Linked DNA regions of Homo sapiens: region 1 is linked to region 2. The links are contacts of gene promoters, found by promoter capture Hi-C in blood cells and fetal thymus (Javierre and others, 2016). All regions are on one chromosome and are shown on one strand. Each heading gives the region's core, a stretch centred on a gene start or on the middle of the fragment in contact. The rest is flanking DNA. Distances are from core to core; before and after follow the strand shown. Region 1 overlaps FNDC3B (fibronectin type III domain containing 3B). Region 2 holds the start of PLD1 (phospholipase D1).

Region 1 (4,018 bases), core at 1,034-3,533, 510 kb before region 2:
GTGTGCAGCAAGTAAAGCCTGACATTTCTCAGTTGCTCCTTGAGTGAACTCACTATGTGGCTGGCATGTCACACACTATGCTTACTTCAACCTTGAGTGTTGAGGTTGAGGAAGATGATTTATTCAAATGCATACACTTGAATAATTACACCCAGCATCCGATCACACTCTATGGGAGCCCTGGTATGTGTCGTATCCATTTCAGGCTGTGGCATGATCTACCTTCTTTCCTCCTCTATTTCTGAACTCAGAGTAAGCAGTGCAAGAAAGGCCCATCCTGCCATGGCGGAAGCTCTCATCCCTTCCAAACCCCGTGTTGGCTCCCCTTTAATGCCTCATTTTTCCTATTTCTTTATTTGGTCTCCTTTCCCCTTTTCTTGTGCTTAGAACTGTAGCCAGTAAAAAAAAAGTCAGTGTTTCTTACTAGGTTAATTTGCTTTAATACAGTAGAAACCAGACTGTTTGTGGCTCAAACGAGAAAAAGACTGGGGAGGGTTCGAAGGGGAGAAATGACTTTTAAGAGAGCCAGAGCACTCACGCTCACTAAAGAATTAGGAGAAGGGGAACTGTGTGACCTTCAAGACATCTTCCTATATTGCTAACATTTAAAAAAATTCTACTTGTGAAAGAAGTAAAAATGGCGCCAGTGCACTCCAGCCTGGGCGACAGAACAAGACTCCATCTCAAAAACAAACAAACAAAACATAAATCTTGGAGTCAGGACCAATTGTTAAAATCAGGAACAACTGCTATATAAACTACAACCCATATAGACAAAGCATGCCGAATTTTCTATCATAACAACTTCCAGGATGTACTACTATGTGCATAAACTTAGGGACACCTAGAAAGATCCAGAGTTGTTAAAACCCTGGAATTCAGTTTTGGAAGCATTGTCTGTAGAGTCTGTAGAGGTAAGAATACAAATATTTGACAGTTAAAAGAATTAAGGCTTATTGATGAATTTTTAGAAGTCATTGAGAATAAAACAAAAACAAGGGAAAGTAGGTTAAAATATTTCAGACATGAGAGAAGTTTTGAATAAAAGAACATATTCATGTATAACATGAAGTTTAATACAAAAGGCATATCTGGGCGGGGTGTGATGGCTCACGCCTGTAATCCCAACACTTTGGGAGGCTGAGGGAGGTGGATCACTTGAGGTCAGGAGTTCGAAACCAGCCTGGCCAACATGGTGAAACACCGTCTCTACTAAAAATACAAAGACATTACCCAGGCGTGGTGGTAGACGCCTGTAATCCCAGCTACTTGGGAGGCTGAGGCAGGAGAATTGCTTGAACCCGGGAGGCAGAGGTTGCAGTGAGTCGAGATCACGCCACTGCACTCCAGCCTGGGTGACAGAACGAGACTCTGTCTCTAATATAAAATAAAATAAAATGCATATCTGGAAAGAAAAAAATTAATGTTCACAAAAGTCACTGCAGTACAAAAAGTGATCTGCAGCTGAGAAGTTAACAAGTGAACTGGAGAAGGCCACTGGCTCCAGTGATCCGATGCCAGCGTGCTGGTCTGTCTACTGCGCCAGGCTCTCCGACGGCTCTGGAGCTTAAGCATTAGAGTAGAGTAAGTCCGTGTTCAAAGGCATAGAAGATTTGGAGAATCTGTTCATAAAACAAGATGGGTCCCAGGTTGCAAATAGCATTTATAAACAAAACATTTTCCTGTTCTTGTTGACAGAAATGGAGTTAAAAAAGAAAAGAGCTAATGCTTTAGAGGACTGAAAGATTCATACGAACTGACAGGAGTGATAAAGTGAATGTTTATCATTGTTTATCAGAAGTTAAATATATCCAAATCATTCCTGTCAGTGAAGTTTTAGAGATGGTAAATGACAACTTTCATATTTTATATGCTGTGTGGCTCCCAGAGATTTTGAGAGATTATAATCTATGGCACGTTCCCGCCTTTAAAAAATCTAATTTAGACTACACAGGATTACTGAGATACGCTGACTTGACTTCGGAAACTTAGTTGTTAATAATTTAAATTCAGCCTTGTTCAAAGTTCCCTACTAAAATATGGCTGCAGTAGAAATGGGTAACATCCTGACACTTTTCAGACCTGTTGTCATCAATGATCTGGTCACACACAGGCAGCAGGGACAGCCATGACTTAGGCCTAATCCTGGCCAGCTACGGCTGCTAGGCCACTTGTGGTGTGTCACACAGAGGAGAGTAAGAGCTTTCAAAGGGGCTGCCAGGGCCTGGGAGTCAGCTGGTCCGCAGGGCTGAGGGAAGAGACTCCTAGCTGCACTCCGCTTCTCTGCGCGTTGGTGGGTCAGGTTCGCAGCACATGAGCAGTCAGGATCAGAACCTCTAAGGTGACACTGGAGTCCCTGTTCTCAGCGGGGTATGGAAAAGATACTTCACCTGAATTAGAGAAACTGGTCAGAGTGAACACCATTGATCATTCTGGAACAGACCTAGCCACTGGGCTACTGACCTCACTGGACATGAACCAATATAACCCCAGCCAGTTCTGGCCTAACTTTCTACTGCCAGTGTCTGTGAGCCAAAAAAAGGGCAGATTTTCAGGGTGCACTGGCTTGTTTCCATTTTGCAACCTTGGGCATGCCCAAATGCTTGTTTCTGCAGCTCAGACCAAGTTCATTCAAGGGCAAGGTTAATCTTTCTTTACTACAATGTGAAGAAATCTTGGAGTACAAACCAACTGTGTGCAGACAAACCTTGAGGTGCTCAATCTGGCGCAGGATGACGCATTGCAAACGTGGGTTGTTTCCTTTCCCAAGCTGAGTGTTCCTCTTCGCACTCAACCTAATTCACAGTTGTTGCTTATCTATCTTCATTCCACACCCAGACCTAGCCTGAGAGCACCAATTCATCACCCTGGGGTAATGTTTTCCAACCAGGGACGAGGGTGTTTTGTCTACCACTTCTGGTCAAAACTGCTCTCCAGGAAAGGACTTGGCTCGCCAGTAAGTCGACTCATATTCACAGCATGCATCAGATCAGCCCTTCCCAAGCCTGGGAAGGGAGAAAGGGCTTTGCCTCTTTCTCCTTTCCAATCATCAAACAAAAATACATTGGGTATTATCCACATTCTAGACACCACTGGATCATCTTACTCTATGTTCCGTCCAGTGTGCCTTGCGCAAACCTGTCCCCTGATGTCATCATAACTCTTACCACAGAGTTCACCTGCCCTAAGCTGGACACCTCATTTATCTGAACCTGGGTAAGTGCCTCTTTCATTTCAAGATTCACATACTAAAGGAAGTCATCACCTTTGGGGGGAAGTCCCAGCCTAGTAACGCTTAGAATACTACATACTCTATGAGCACCTGCCTCCCCTTTGCTTCATCCTCATCCTCACTCACTTTTTAGAAGGGTCATGCATTTTTGGTTTCAAGTCCTAATTAATAATGGGAGTCTAGATATTGTTCTTGTTCCTACAGGGTCCTGCTAAATTCTGAAGAATGGCAATAACCTCCAACTTTTTGCCAGACTATGAAAGGCCCCAAACACAGAAAAAAAGGGGCAAGAGAAGGGAGCTTGGAGAGTATATAAAAAGCACTATGTGGCTACATAGCAGAGAATGATCAACCCCTGAAAACATCTCCAAGATGTGATTATAATCTCCAGGACAAAGACTTTTTCTTTTTCCCCCCACAAGGGAGAAATACTGTTTCCAAATATTCTACTTTTTGTGTGTGTGTGTGAGAGACAAGGTGTCTCACTCTGTTGTTCAGGCTAGAGAGCAGTGGTACAAACAGACCATAGCTCACTGTAGCCTCAAACTGCTGGACTCAAGGGATTCTCCTTCTCAGCCTCCTGAGTAGCTAAGATTATAGGCATGCACCACCACACCTGGCTAAATTTTCAATTTTTTTCTTTTTGGTAGAGATGGGCTGATCTCGAACCCCTGGCCTCAAGCTATCCTTCCACCTGAACTAGGCTTCCCAAAGTGCTGGGATCATAGGTGTGAGCTACCATGTCCAGCTCTGCCATTCTCCAAAATGAAATTTGGAGATAAATTA
Region 2 (4,292 bases), core at 343-2,842:
GTCTTGAGCTCCTGACCTCAGGTAATCAACGCGCTTCGGCCTCCCAAAGTGTTGGGATTACAGGTGTGAGCCACTGCGCTTGGCCTTGATAATTTTATTTCTAATTAGATTTAGTAGAAAGACCTATTGTTGGAGGCAAGTGCCAAATGTTTTCATAGTGACACTTAAGAATTTGGGATGCAATTTTATAGACTGCTGCTTCTCAACCAAAAGCATTATAATTTCTAAAGACAAGCTTGTAAGAATGCAGTTACGTGTGTGCACAAGACTTATCAGACCATCTGTGACTAATAAAGCTTGAGAAAGAGGGGAGGAGAGAGGGTATTCTGCCTTCCAGTAACATGCTTGTCTGAAACTTACTAAACTCCTCTTAGGCAATACTCTGCTCAGAGAGTCATGTGTTTAATTGTAAAAATCTGTCAGTATCATAGGATTCAAAAGACATCAATCATTTATGTCAACAAGGAAAGAGTGAGGGCTGTGTGACTCTTCTATCATTAGGAAAAGATGTGCTCAAGAGACAAAAATGTGGTCTAAGGAGGGCTGAGCAACTGTAGGTTACAGGAAAACTGAGTTCCAGACTATAATTTGGCCCCCCTCCCCTAATTTGGACTGGTATATTATATTTTTCATTTCATGCAATGCCATGTGTGCAGTAAGACATTATGTAACTTGGTCAGTCGCAGTTGTGTAATATCCACTAAATGCTTTAAAGTGGCTGACGTTATTAGCAGTTTGGTGCATGGGGAGGCCATTGCTTCCCCTGGCTTTGGCGGGATGCAATATCGTGTAATGAGGTTGGAACTGGCCTATATTCAAAATTACATTCCCAAAGGGCTGCTATTCAAGCCACATGACAACTGGTTCTCTTTTTCTTAAGACTTTATTCTAAGTGGACTGAAAACAGCAAAATTGCCGTGTTTGAACGGTTCCATAGGTGGAATGGGTCTTTTCCCTGTTTTGCTCCCAATTTATTATTTTATGCTAAGATTTCTGAATTATAACCAGTTTTAGAGACATCGGGACACAAATTCCCGTCCCCCTCCATCTAAGCTGTGTGACCTCGGGCTGGTTCTGAGCCTTCATTTCCTTACCTGTAAATTGGCGATAACACTTCCCTAAGGAGGTGCAAGAAGGCTTATAAAGACTCCAGCAAAGCTCCAGTCTCTTAATTATGTCACCTCAGGCAAGTTATTTAGCCGTTTGATTTGCTGATTCCTTACTTATAAGTTGGACCAGTTGTGGCTACTATCCGCAGTAGTCGAAGAATAGATATCATAGGCAAAGCTCCGGGAAAGGTGGCTGGTCCTTGGCGGCTCGAGAGGACCTGATAATGGTCCTAATAGCGAGCATTCCCTAGGGTGATGCGGTCGAGTTATGAAACTTTGGGAAAAGAGAACAAGGAACGCGGGCGATCAGAGGCCCAGTCGCGAGACCTGCCCCGCTGGGGCCTCCAGCCGGCACCGCGACGCCCCGGGACCTGGCACCGCCTCGCTCCACCCCTGCGAATCCGGGGCGAATCCGGGCGGAGAGTTCCTGCCGGCCGCGCAGCGCAGAGCCCCCTCCGGCCCGCCCTCTCTCCCTCCCTCCCGCTGAGCTCCAGCTGTGCCAGAGGCACCCGAGCCCTGAGAGTCCGCCGCCAACGCGCAGGTGCTAGCGGCCCCTTCGCCCTGCAGGTAGGAGCCGCGCCGAGACCCGGATCACCGGGCGCCCGTGGGAGCCGGGTTTCCACTGCCCTCGCCCTCCGTCCCTCCTCCGCCCAACCTGGGCAGCTGGCCGCTCCCCGCCCAACTTGGACGGGATTTCAGCGAGTGAGTCGGCGGCGGACTCCCTAGCGATCCCCAAGGGCCTCCCTCGCACGCCTTCGGGTGGAATTCCTGCAGGGTGAAAGCTGACAACTCTGGCACGCACTTTTGCCGCGCGGGCGGCTGCCTGGAGCGCAGAGCCGCGCAGGCTCAGGCTGAAGCCCAGGCGTCCTCTGCAGGATGCACCGCCTCGCCGCCACAGGGCTTCGGGTGCAGTGTGTGTGGTGTCCCCAGGTCATCCGGGCGCCCTTGGTTCGGGTGCGCGGTGGCATGACTGGGCTGGTGGGGGCGATGGGACCGGCATCCCGTACCAACCAGGAAGTGCCGCGTCCCAAGGCTTCGAGCCCAGCCCGCAGAGCACGGTCCTGGGGGTGTGATCACAGCTGCTGACCGCGGCTCCCGCCGTGTGATGTGACCACTCGGAGGTGGGGCGAGGGGGCCGGGGGCCAGCAGCAGGGAGTGTGTAAAAGGTCTTCTTCCTCACAATACGATTGAAGGTGTTTGGGACGTAGGGCTCAGATCCAGGAGTGCCGTCCTCCAAGCCTTCCATAGGATTTTGTGACGCCCTTGAGAACCGCCCTTGTAGACTCAGTCCTGAACTACCGCCACGCCTGTATTTGCTCCTCCTCATCTCGGATTATTGCTTTCTTTACTTCCTCTGTGAAGCACTAAATACTAGTAGCTTTTTAAGAACAGACCACAACAGTTTCTTCGTTTGACCATTACTAAGTCTGCCTCCAAAATGGGGAGTTCCGTTAACTTTATCAGCCAGCCCTGCCAATTTTAGTTAAGATAAGCCTTCGTGGGCCTCCAAAGGCCTCTGAGAGACTAGGTACCCAGAGACCTCTGAGGTATGTTAAATGGTTTAGTTCGTGGTGGTGCAATGAAAACTTAAAGAAGGAAAGGAATCTGCAATTTGAACTGTTAACAGACCCCACATTTACACACTGCCTATTTGAATAAGAATCTCTTTCAGTATTAAATGTTTTGTGACACACAAATGAATTTGTACACAGTCTTTTAGCTTGAATTTGTAGACAGCCTTTAAATGTTGTTTGGGGATCTTTGGACTAATTGTATAAGCGCTCAGTCTGGCTTCTCAAGAACCAGTACAGTTAACAATCCATATAAAAAGTTGGAGTGCTGCCTGGGCGCGGTGACTCACGCCTGTAATCCCAGCACTTTGGGAGGCTGAGGCGGGCAGATCACCTGAGGTCAGGAGTTTGAGACCAGCCTGGCCAACATGGTGAAACCCCGCCTCTACTAAAAATACAAAAATTAGCCAGGCGTGGTGGCACACGCCTGTAATCCCAGCCACTCGGGAGGCTGAGGCAGGAGAATCGCTTGAACCCGGGAGGCGGAGGTTGCAGTGAGCCGAGATGGAGCCATTGCACGCCAGCCTGGGCGACAGGGCAAGAATCTGTCTCAAAAAAAAAAAAAAAAAAAAAAAAAAATTGAATGCTAAGGCTTTGAGGAAAAAGTGTCTTTACAATGTTTGTCCCTGATGACAGAATAATTATGAACTATAGTAAGCGCTGTACAATGCTCATTTAGGTTTGTAGACTTACTTATAACCAGGTAGTGGGGAACCCGGCTTCTTGGAAGTTGTATGTTTACTTAGTGTTTCTTAATTAAAATTACAAATTTTATTTACCTTTAACTCTTATAGGTAACTTTTATTTTTGTTACAAAGGAAAAGTAGGACTGTCATTATTATTATTATTATTATTTTTTGAGACGGAGTCTCGCTCTGTCGCCCAGGCTGGAGTGCAGTGGCGCGATCTCGGCTCACTGCAAGCTCCACCTCCCGGGTTCACGCCATTCTCCTGCCTCAGCCTCCTGAGTAGCTGGGAAAACAGGCGCCTGCTGCCACGCCCGGTTGATTTTTTGTATTTTTAGTAGAGACGGGGTTTCACCGTGTTAGCCAGGATGGTCTCGATTTCCTGACCTCGTGATCCGCCCGCCTCGGCCTCCCAAAGTGCTGGGATTACAGGCGTGAGCCACTGCACCCGACCCTATTTTTTTTTTTTAATAATTTGAAATTTTATTTTAGATACAGGGGGTACATGTGCAGGTTTGTTACATGGACATACAGCATGCAGCTGAGGTTGGGGGTACAACTGGTCCCGTCACCCAGGTGGTGAGCATAGTACCTGATAATTTTTTAACTTTTGCTCTCCTTCCTCCCTCCCACGTCTAGTAGTTCCCAGTGTCTATTGTTGCCGTCTCTATATCCATAAGTACCCAATGTTTACCTTCCACTTATTAGTGAAAACATGCAATGTTTGATTTTCTGTTCCTGCATTAATTTGCTTAGGATAATGACCTCCATCCGCATCCATGTTTCTACAAAGGACACGATTGTGTTACTTTTTATGGCTGCATGGTATTCTATGATGCATATGGACCACATTTTCTCTTATCCGGTCCATAGTTGATGGGCATCTAGGCTGACTCCATGTCTTTGCTATTGTGACTAGTGCTGTG

The links. Contacts are between HindIII fragments. The CHiCAGO score rates a contact against its expected background, and 5 or more counts as called.
Region 1: a contact is called between a fragment that was not itself captured here and the fragment with the promoter of PLD1 in region 2, in 1 of 17 cell types (neutrophils). The highest score is 7.6, in neutrophils.

The regions. Positions count from the first base shown.
Region 1 is chr3:172,323,202-172,327,219 of GRCh38, reverse strand. The region is part of intron 11 of FNDC3B (fibronectin type III domain containing 3B); the gene reads right to left. Among named protein-coding and RNA genes, the nearest start is that of GHSR, 120 kb to the left of the region's middle. The HindIII fragment of the contact is 8,157 bases long and covers 1-4,018 here.
Region 2 is chr3:171,807,783-171,812,074 of GRCh38, reverse strand. It overlaps PLD1 (phospholipase D1), which reads left to right and starts at 1,592. Exons shown (of 27, transcript NM_002662.5): 1 at 1,592-1,676. The HindIII fragment of the contact is 4,859 bases long and covers 299-4,292 here.